Linked DNA regions of Homo sapiens: region 2 is linked to region 1. The links are contacts of gene promoters, found by promoter capture Hi-C in human tissues and cell types (Jung and others, 2019). All regions are on one chromosome and are shown on one strand. The core of a region is centred on a gene start or on the middle of the fragment in contact, and the rest is flanking DNA. Distances in the headings are between cores, read along the strand shown.

Region 1 (5,668 bases), core at 1,312-3,811:
TCTCCAGTAATATTTATTTATTTATTTGTGACAGGGTCTCACTCTGTCACCCAGGCTCGAGTGCAGTGGTGAGATCACAGCTCACTGCAGTTTCAAACTCCCAGGCTCAGATGATCTTCATGGCTCAGTCTCCTGAGCAGCTGGGACTATAGGCCTGTGCCATCATGCCCAGCTAAATTTTGTATTTTTTGTAGGGATGGGGTTTCGCCATGTTGCCCAGGCTGGCCTCAACTCCTGGGCTCAAGCGATCCACCTGCCTTGGTCTCCCAAAATGCTGGAATTACAGGCGTGAGTCACCGCACCCAACCTCCAGTAACTTTTTTTTTTTTTTTTGACACGGAGCCTCGCTCTGTTGCCCAGGCTGGAGTGCAGTGGTGCCATCTCGGCTCACTGCCAGCTCTGCCTCCCGGGTTCACGCCATTCTCCTGCCTCAGCCTCCTGAGTAGCTGGGACTACAGGCGCGTGCCACCATGCCTGGCTAATTTTTTTGTATTTTTAGTAGAGATGGAGTTTCACCGTGTTAGCCAGGATGATCTTGATCTCCTGACCTCGTGATCCGCCCGCCTCGGCCTCCCAAAGTCCTGGGATTACAGGCATGAGCCACCGCGCCCGGCCTTTTTTTTTTTTTTTTTTTTGACACGGAGTCTCTCTCTGTCGCCCAGGCTGGAGTGCAGTGGCGCAATCTCGGCTCACTGCAAGCTCTGCCTCCTGGGTTCACGCCATTCTCCTGCCTCAGCCTCCAGAGTAGCTGGGACTACAGGCACCCGCCGCCACCATGCCAGGCTAATTTTTTGTATTTTTAGTAGAGACGGGGTTTCACCTTGTTAGCCAGGATGGTCTCGATCTCCTGACCTCGTGATCCGCCCGCCTTGGCCTCCCAAAGTGCTGGGATTACAGGCGTGAGCCACCGCGCCCGGCTCCAGTAATTTTTTTTTTCTTTTTGAGACAGAATTTTGCTCTTTTCGCCCAGGCTGGAGTGCAATAGCACGATTTCAGTTTACTGCAACCTCTGCCTCTCAGGTTCAAGTGATTCTCCTGCCTCAGCCTCCCAAGTAGCTGGGATTACAGGCGTGCGCCACCACGCCCAGCTAATTTTTTTATTTTTATTTTTTATTTTTAGTAGAGATGGGGTTTCACCACGTTGGCCAGGCTGGTCTCAAACTCCTGACCTCAGGTGATCCATCCGCCTAGGCCTGCCAGAGTGCTGAGATTACAGGTGTGAGCCACTGTGCCCAGCCCATCCAGTAATTTTTATATTTTGCAGTCTAAACCTATTCCTAAGTCAGTGCAACCATCCATTACTTTCAGTAAGTGGCTTGGTGCCACTGGTTTTAGGAGATTCCTTGCTGAAGCCTTTATACAGGCTCAATGCTTTCTGGGGGGTAACAGGTTGCTGTCAGTTGGAACACATTTTTTGTTCGTGTCTTCCACGTATAAGCTTAATGCTTTTTCTTTTCTTTTGTAAAAAAATTTATTTTCTTTTTTTCCCCTGTAAGTAAGGATACAACTTAATGCCTTTTCTATCTTAACTAAGCACTTATCACACACTGTGGCTGTAACTTTTGCAGTTTGAGGTACGACAGCAAAACCAGCATGAATTTCTTTTTCCTCTTTCACAATTCTAGGGCTAGAAGATTCGTTCTTACTGCAGACCTCAGTAAGCTCAGCATACGATTTTTTTTCTTAAGCTCAGAACTTCCACATTTACATTTAAAGGAAGCACTTTACAGCTTCATTTTGGCATATCCAAACTGCCAGCATTACTACTCTTGCACTTTGGGGCCATTATATAGTAAAATGAGGGTTACTCGAACCAAAGCACTGCAACACCGTGGCAGTCCATCTGATAACTCCTAAGCTGGTAAGTAACTAACAGATGGTAGAGGTATGTTGGACAAAGGGATGATTCACATTGCAGGTAGGATGGAACAGGATAGCACGAGATTTCATTAGGCCAATGGAAATTAAAAACTTATGAACTGTTTATTTCTGGAATTTTCTATTTAATACTGTCAGACCTTAGCTGGCCAAGTGAAACTACTCAAAGTAAAATCTCAGATAAGGGGGACACTACCGTACTTAACTGGAGAAGATACTGCTTTGCTTCTGTGACCACAGAATTGACAGGTTGAAATTGGAAACAACTGTTGCCTTCACGCTTTTAAGACAACTTCACATGAATATACATGTGAAGTTCAAGCATGGCAGTATCCCATACTAGCAATAAATTTTTGAGCAGTGTTGCACACTTACTGTCATTTCTCTTACTGTTCTGCCACTCCTACAGAGCGCAGGCCAAGGAGACTACATTTCCCAGAATGCCACACGCCCTTTGACCCCAGCTACAGCAAAAGACGCGCCGGGGAGCGCCTGAAGCCGGAAGACTATAGCTTCCCGGCATGCAGCACGCTTCCCCCTATTAGATTTGAGGCGCGGCCGGCGCGTTGCCCACTGGGAGTTGTAGTCAGTGGCGCGTTGCCCTGACGCCTGCCGGGCCGGGCGTGGGGGCCTGTGGGAGGTGGCGCGGCCGGGCCCAGCTGCGGGGCGGAGGCGGAGGCGGAGGAGAGGCCTGCGGCGGCAGGGAGCGGCGGGACTGGGAGCGGGCGCCGGAGCCGACCCGAGCCGAGCCGAGCCGAGCCGAGCCGGAGCGGGCGGCGAAGGCCGGCGCGGCGAGCAGCAACCATGTCGGTGTTCGGGAAGCTGTTCGGGGCTGGAGGGGGTAAGGCCGGCAAGGGCGGCCCGACCCCCCAGGAGGCCATCCAGCGGCTGCGGGACACGGAAGAGATGTTAAGCAAGAAACAGGAGTTCCTGGAGAAGAAAATCGAGCAGGAGCTGACGGCCGCCAAGAAGCACGGCACCAAAAACAAGCGCGGTGAGGCTGCCCGGCCCCTTCAGACTTGCCACGGGCTCCCCCCAGGCTCCCCGGGCCCGGACTTCACCTTCATCAGACTCGCCTCGGGGTCTGGTCTGACCCTGGAACTCTCCGGGTCAGACTTCTTGCCGGGTCTGGGACCCCCTCCCCGACTCCCTTCAATGTCTCCCCGATCCCTGGACTTTTCCATCGTCAGACTTATTCTGCCCTCTCCCCTCAGCCTCTCTCCACCCCGCCAGGTCCCTTCAGACCCCAATCTCACAGCACTTTCCTCCGCCCTCACTCTGTCCCTTTCTCTTCCGCCTTTTCCTTCTCGCCTCACCCACCTGCCTAGCTACTGCCCCTGCCTCCTCCTCGGCTCATTTCTGCCCCCATCCTAGCATTTCTGTGCTTCCTGGTCCTACCTGTGCCCTCTCCCGACTCCTCGGTGGAATCTGTGAGCTGCCCCTTGGCCTCTCCCCTGTCCTCTTGTCTCAGAATTCTCGTTGAAAAGCCTCCTTGCTGGAGAGAAAAGGGGACTGGGGGAGATGAGACCCCCGATTCCTGCTCTATTCACTTGCTGAGTGAACTTGAGCAAGTTGCTTTCCCTTTGAGGCCTCAGTTTCCCCATCCGTCAGCCAGAGTTCGGCCTCTGTTGAGGCCTAAGGTGTTTTCCAGCGTTGTGATTCACTTTTTGTTGCCTCGTAGCTTGACCTTACCAAAGTTTCCCGTGGCGCAAGCCTTCACCCCATGACTCACCGCTTCCCCATCCGTCTGAACCAGAAATAGAGACTCCCGACTGCTCCCCAGTCCCCACTACTAGGATTCAGGGCCCCAGTATTGAATCTTGAGGCACTGCTTACTTTACTTCCTGTTGTCGTATGGCTTTCTGGGCATTCCAAGTGCTTTGTGTTTTTCTTAAGTGAGATGAATGTGAAAATGCTTTAAAACTGTAAAGCAGTTTAGAAATGTTTGCTTTTTCTTGTTATGGCCATGTGAGAGTGAATCACAGAACGACATCCCTTCCCCTTGAGAGGGGTTTAGGATTGAGGTAATTCACTCAGAAGTCTGCTAGTGACTAGCAGTGCGACCTTGAGCTCATTTACCTTTCTGAAAGGAAAATCATGGATTTACAGTGCTCAGCACATAGTAGGGGCTAAATCGATGTTTTCTCCATTCTAATAGGAGAACAAAATAGCCTATCTGGAGGATGCTTCTCTGCTGATAGTCAACAGATATTCTGGAAATTCTTTTTAGTGCCTGCTGCATGCGCTGTATTCATAGGGGTGAACAAAACACGGCCTCAACCCTAATGGGAGAGAAGACAGAAACAGGAAAATAAATGAAGAAAATATTGTCCGGGGGTGATAAGTACTAAACACACAAAAAGATGGTCTGATAGGGAGTGGTGGAGTGGGAGGGATGCCACTTTGGATAGAATGGTCAGGGAAGGCGTCTTTGAAAAGGTAAAGTTTGAACTGAGTCTGGAGAAGGAACCAGCTCTGTAAAAAAAAAAAAAAAAGGGGGAGGAGCCTTCTGGGCGTGGAAAGCAGCATGGGAAAAGGCTCGGAGGTTAGCAGGTTGTAAGAAACCGAAGAGAGAGACCCTTGTGTCCAGAATGTAGTGCTTGGAGGGAGAGTGGTATGGAATAAAGGGGGCGGGGCTTGGACTTTGAACCTGTTGGTGAAGAGTTTGAATTTTATTCCAAGTGGATGGAAAGTTTTTGGAGAGTATTTTGTTGGAACGTGTCCTTATTGACAGAGTTTTTAAAACATCATCTGGCTGCTCTTTGGAGAGTGGGTGGGGGATGCGGGTGGGAGCAGGGAGAACAGTGAGGAGGCAGCTGCAGTGGTCCATTTGTGGCTTGGACTCCAGCTTAGTTGTGGAGATGGGAACAGGGTTATATTTTGCTGTCTCTAGCTTTTTCCTCTGATGACTCTCCCTCAGTCCAGATCCTCTGTTTATGGTCATCAGAATCAGTGTTTTTAGCTTTCTGCATTTTGGAATGCAGGAGGAGGGTGTCAGTTTACCATTTTCCTCTGATCTTTTGGTCTGGAGCTAGCTTAGTTTCTGGAGTTTGTTTTTTTGTTTGTTTGTTTGTTTGTTTGTTTTTGAAACGGAGTCTCGCTCTGTTGCCCAGGCTGGAGTGCAGTGGTGCGATCTCAGCTCACTGCAACCTCTGCCTTCTGGGTTCAAATGATTCTCCTGCGTCAGCCTCCTGAGTAGCTGGGATTACAGGTGCACGCCACCATGCCTGGCTAATTTTTGTATTTTTAGTAGAGATGGGGTTTCACCATGTTGGTCAGGCTGGTCTTGAACACCTGACCTCATGATCTGCCTGCCTCGGCCTCCCAAAGTGCTGGGATTATGGGCATGAGCCATCGCACCCAGCCGTTTCTGCAGTTTTGGCGATCGAATTGACTTTCAAGGGGCTGCAGGAGAGCTCGCCAGCCAACTGTGGAGGACCAATCTCAGTTGTCAGACTTGCTGAAGGCAGGCTGTCTCCCTGAGTTTGCTTGAGAGGATGGGAGCTACTGTAACCTACCCTTCTTTTTAGCATCCTCTAGGAGGAAGGTCTTAGTGTGGGGAGGTGAACACTACCACATTACCATTCAGTTAGTCTGCTTATTCACCTGCCACTATGCTGGGACCTTGAGAGTCAGAGATGAAAATACACTGTGTCAGCCCTTCAGGAACTCAGAATTGGAAGTGTGGGGTGGGAGTGTATGTGCGTGTGAGAGAGCAGGAAATGATTATAACAGTGCAGAAACATGAGTGTGTACATGGGCTGAGGCTGCAGAGGAGGCGGCACCTGTT
Region 2 (5,668 bases), core at 2,381-4,880, 1.8 Mb after region 1:
ACAAGATTTATTCATAAAGCCATCTGATGAGAAAAATTGTTTCTAGCTTCCAAAAAATATGAAATAATATCCGCAGCCAGGTGCGGTGGCTCACACCTGTAACCCCAGCACTTTGGGAGGATGAGGTGGGTGGATCACCCGAGGTCAGGAGTTCAAGACCAGCCTGGCCAACAAGGTGAAACCCCGTCTCTACTAAAAACACAAAAAATTAGCTGGGCATGGTGGCAGGTGCCTGTAATCCCAGCTACTAGGGAGGCTGAGGCAGAAGAATCACTTGAACCCGGGAGGCAGAGATCACGCCACTGCACTCCAGCCTGGGCAACAAGAGCGAAACTCTGTCTCAAAAAGAAATAAATAAATAAAACAAATAAAAATTTAAAAAAAAATTTAAAAAAGTATCTGCTTTTCTGTTACTAAGTAACTGTTTGACAGCTAAGTCATTTCAACCTAACTTGGGCCTATCTTAGTTACTTAAACAAGAGGGTTAGATTCCACTTGCTAAGGTTCCATTTAAAGTCTAAAATTTGTACTCTAAAACATGTGACCCATTATCTATACTTAAACTCTTAGGAAATATAAATAAACATATCAATAACAAGCATCTGTATTTGTAATTAGTCTAAAATGCTACTAAGGAATAAAACTTACTGCCTATCAGGAAAATCACAAGATAAATAGATCCATATAAATGAAATTGACCCCCAAAGGAACAACTGTTCAAAGCACCCATCTACCCCACCCCTATCCCTCAGATAAACTTGTAAAAAACCACACCGGCCTGGGTGGCGGCTCATGCCTGTAATCCCAGCACTTTGGGAGGCTAAGGCAGGTGGATCACAAGGTCAGGAGTTCAAGACCAGCCTGGCCAAGAGGATAAAACCCCATCTCTACTAAAAATACAAAAAAATTAGCCGGGTATGGTGGCAGGCGCCTGTAATCCCAGCTATTCGGGAGGCTGAGGCAGAGAAGTGCTTGAACCCGGGAGGCGGAGGTTGCAGTGAGCCGAGATGGCACCACTGCACTCCAGCCTGGGCAACAGAGTCTAGCCTGGGCAACTGAGCAAGACTCCGTCTCAAAACAAAAAACAAGCAAACAAAAACACACACACACACACACACACACACACACACACACAATATAGTTGCTACATATATTTTCATATTTCTTAATAAGCTATCTCATTTTATTTTGTATAAAAACGAACTCTCTATTCAAAATCTCTTACCTGATAAAACAAGAGATGAATTTCCTTAACAAGAAGTAGAGGCCAAGTCAATCCTGTGGGCAACCAATTAAAACCAACTTTTAGACTGCAATAGAGAATAAACGGAGGCAAAAATCAATGCAGGAAACACAAAACAACACGCACAGGCCACACTGTACATTACGAAGGCGAGTCTGAAACCACCAGAGTACTTCATTAGAATGCATATCAAAAAAAAAAAAAAAAAGAAAGACACCGTAACAAAATCCCACACATGCTTTTTAGTTGGTATTGCTTTCAAATTTGAGTATCTCAAAATAATTATATATTTACAAGAGTGTCATTAACTTAGCCCAATAACGAATCCACTGAAAATTAAAACAGTCATAAAGCTCAGCTTCACAGCTAATTGCTTTGATCACTTTATAATTAAACCAGTCCAGAAAACTCCGTAACACAAGTCTATTTCCCCAGGTTCTCACCAAATTTGTGATGAAAAGGCACAAGTTCGCACAATAACAATTCTTGGACAACTTAAGATAGCAATTCAAGGGTACTCATGGAAATTACTGCAATTATTCTTTCAATATATTTTATTTTGCACAAAATAGCATCCAACATCACAAAACAAATGAAGTATGAGTTCTTGCTATAAGGACTAATTCCACTGGAGCTCAAAATATTAACAAAATATTAAGGGAAAGTGTTTTTTCCTCTGACATCACAACAGTTCTCAAAAACTTGTAAAATTTAAATAAATAAAATAAAATAAAATTTAAAAACACCCTAAAAATGCCTGACATATTAAGAGTATATCCCAAAATAAAAACAGGTCACTCATCTTTCACTGTCATTTCTTCCAAACTGGTGAGGTTATTAACAAGTCACAAGCATATATGACCAAATGTCTAGACAACTATATTCAAAGGTCATTTTTTGCTTTTTATTTTTTTTCAAAGGTCATGTTTTAATTCGGAGAGAGAAGAAATTTGCCACTGTTCAGTATTAAGATTACCTACGACTACTTTTCCAAATGATGCTCATCTTAAATTAGTATCTTCCAAGACCAAAATACAACTAATGACCTTAATATTCATCGCCAAAAAGTAAAACATATTTCAAAAATCTGTGTGATTTTCTAAAGGACAAACTATTCATCGTCTAGTCAACTACTCAAGTTGCTAAAGAATAGTGAGATGGTTTTACCACAAAAAGCTATGCAAATATGTAATCAACACAATCAAAAGTCTAGAGCATTGTATTAATCTTTTACATGTTGTAGAAATCTAGCCTCTTTTTTTTTTCTTTTTTTGAGACAGGGTATCGCTCTGTCGCCCAGGCTAGAGTGCAGTGGCGCGATCTAGGCTCATTAGGCTCATTGCAACCTCCGCCTCCCTGGGTTCAAGCTATTCTCATGCCTCAGCCTCTGGAGTAGCTGGGACTGACTACAGGCTTGCGCCACCACCCGCAGCTTATTTTTGTATTTTTAGTAGAGACAGGGGTTTCATTATGTTACCCAGGCTGGTCTCTTAACTCCTCACCTCAAGTGATCCACCCGCCTCAGCCTCCCAAAGTGCTGAGATTACAGGTGTGAGCCACCACGCCTGGCCTAGCCTAACTAAGTCTAAGGAGTTTAAAAATTCTTCATTTGAAAGCCATATCTAGTAGTTTAACAGGTCACAAAGGAAAATGTGAAACAGAAAAAAACCTGCTTCAAGTAAAGCAATGAGCAAGAGCATGAAGTACTGTAATATTTATGTACAGGTTTGACTCCAGCAGCCACATAACAGGGTAACTTTCTAGTTTCTAGAACTTGTAATAAACATCTGATCCCTACTGGAGATTCCAATTCAAAAGGTCAGGTATGGGGCCAGGGCATATGCCTGAATATAAGGTAAGAAGGTTCCTCTCAGCCTCTTCCCTTGCAAACTCAAAAGATACCGTATGTCTATCTTGAGAAGGACATATCTGGGGTCAGCCAGTTAAGCTCAAAGGGAACTCACCAGGTCTACTCTCAAAAATTTCTAAAAGGTTACCAGAAATTACCTTTAAAAGGAAGATATTTCTCATTCCACAAGGCAAGGCTGAAAGGCCCAGCTGAATTTGACAAATGCCTAGTTCAAGTTTTATGTGTACAACTTAAAGCACAAAATCAATCCAGATAGAAATTTATGATTCTCTTCTATTTCAGCAAAGAGGAATACCCACCCCACCCCATACCAAGGAAAACCATGCAGAAAGTTGATGCTACAAGTCAGAACTTCACAACCCTTGGTATTATACCTCTTCAAAAGGGAAAGGTAAATGGAAATAGAACTGAAATACTTCTGTGTTGACACCTCACTTTGTAAAAACCACAAGAATTTAACATAAGTGTCACTGTTTTCCAGGAAACTACTATTCCTGTATTCTAAATGTCAGCTAGCGACTGAATGCAGGATTTCAAAAATCCACGCCATTTACCTAAAGCTTTGCTGAACTTTAGAAGGATAAGACTAAAATAATAACTAAACAATAAAACATCTAAAATACATATTCTATCTATACATACAGCATAATGATAGGAAAGGAGAAAATGGGCCTGATTTGTCATTAAAGCCACTGATATACTTCAGAAGATCTAAAACAAGAAGCTGGCTTTAGTATGTTTTCCATTCATATTATCAGGAATTAGTCCTAACATAAAGGCTTGCTTCAACTTGACAAAATACCGGATGCATGCACAAATCACAAGTATCTGCTACAAAAATTTAACATATTATGGCAAGACAGACTTTCGTATTTACTAGCCATTCTAATCACTTGGAATTTCAGAAAAAAATGTCTGACAACAAATCTCTTCATCAAGAAGTCAAGGCACAAACTAAAACGACTATTTTCACTCTTCATCTGGTAGTAAACATCCAAAAGTGAACTTTAACTTTGTTCAGTTATCACTCTTTAATCAACAAGAACCAGGGTACAGCAGAGCTAGGTTCTTCAGATCCAAAAGAAACAAACTCTCAAATGTTCACCTCAGAGATTAGCAACAGAGAACCAATCACAACGGGCACAATGCTAAAAACAGTATAATCACATTATAATAAACATTATGAAACAACCACAGTTTCAGCCACTTGATTTTGTTCCCCATTCCCAAATGGACCATATATCAAAGTCTGGGATCACTCTTAATGAAAAAATTATTCTGACACTGATGGAGATGTGTACTTTTTATAACGCATTACTCAATTTTTCCATTAACCTCCATTCCGTACTCAAAGGCAGCAAATCAGAAGACATTTCTAAATAAGATATTCCTCCTGTCAAAAATATTAAGTTATGTTTCAATCCCCCCAAATGCCAACAAAAATGTTGCTACCTTCATTTTCACTTCAGAGCAAAATTATACTTCTAACCTAAACAACCACATTCACTCTGTTTTTGAGTCTTAAAAGCTGGCTTTAAACTTAATTAAATTTTGTGCAAACCAAAAGGTATATGGGTGTGGTAGTAAAATCTGATAAAACTGTAGTTTAGATAAAATTATCTTTTCTGTTTAGTTGAAAACATTTAACAATATTCCTTTACTCCATGAACATTTACTATTAAGCACTTGTGGGCCAGACAAAAGATATAAAAGTGGACATCATCAGTCTCTGCATTTTAGGGAGGGACATCTAAAAGCATCTTTTGTGCAACCAACTACTGACACTTGGTTCTTCCTACAACATCTACAGAAGAAAACATACATTCATACAATGACAGAATGGCTCTCTGCAAAATGGAGTAAAAACTATCAACACTGTCACTGGATTCCAGCACCTGGAACACACTGGCCCACAACATCAAGTTTCACACCTAAAGACTGTACTAACAACTCCCAAACTCTCAATACTCAATCATCAAAACATTTGACGTGTCAAAGAAGGTGAAAGAAGCCCAAAGAGTACTGGTATTAGCATGTAACAATACGTTGCAAGTAACCACACAATTATTTCTAAAGCTTCACATTTTTCATCTAACAGATTTGAACATAAAGAAAATGAAAATTATACATTACAATCCATAAGCAAAGTAATCACATTTAATCGAGCATATATAAAAATGTATTCCCTGTTTCATTAAAAATCTGTCCAATAATATATACTAAGCACATCTTCATTGTTTTGTATAAACACGCCAAACATTTCACTTTCTTCATAAATTACCATAACGTTATTTGAACCACCTGTAACAGTTCTTCCCAACTTTTTATACTCTTTGAAAATGTCTGCACACTTTCCACTAAATCCAGAAATCCTCCATTCTTATCAAAACTGCCAAATTTCAAAAACAAGTACAACCAGTCTTGTATTGTAGTTCTATAATTTAAAAAACAAGATTTCCCTATGTGTCCAGACTTGAGGGATTTTTCTCGACTGCAAATGCTCTGAGATGCATTAACAATATACACTAGTTAACAAGGTCCCAGACAATTCTTGT

Evidence for each region. The method cuts DNA at HindIII sites, captures the fragments that hold promoters and counts their contacts. A contact is called where the count stands out against the background at its distance.
Region 2: a fragment that was not itself captured here is called in contact with the fragment with the promoter of CHMP4B in region 1 in 1 of the 25 tissues and cell types used here (hippocampus).

What each region holds. Positions count from the first base shown.
Region 1 is chr20:33,808,787-33,814,454 of GRCh38, forward strand. It overlaps CHMP4B (charged multivesicular body protein 4B), which reads left to right and starts at 2,562. Exons shown (of 5, transcript NM_176812.5): 1 at 2,562-2,872. The coding sequence starts at 2,683. ZNF341-AS1 (ZNF341 antisense RNA 1) reads right to left here and starts at 2,313. Exons shown (of 4, transcript NR_110623.1): 1 at 2,254-2,313. RefSeq lists enhancers at 2,237-2,531, 2,271-2,350, 3,117-3,957, 3,786-3,855 and a silencer at 2,411-2,690. The HindIII fragment of the contact is 9,541 bases long and covers 1-5,668 here.
Region 2 is chr20:35,657,705-35,663,372 of GRCh38, forward strand. The region is part of intron 1 of CPNE1 (copine 1); the gene reads right to left. RBM12 (RNA binding motif protein 12) reads right to left here. Exons shown (of 3, transcript NM_006047.6): 2 at 1,226-1,310. Among named protein-coding and RNA genes, the nearest start is that of CPNE1, 4.4 kb to the right of the region's middle. The HindIII fragment of the contact is 4,098 bases long and covers 1,582-5,668 here.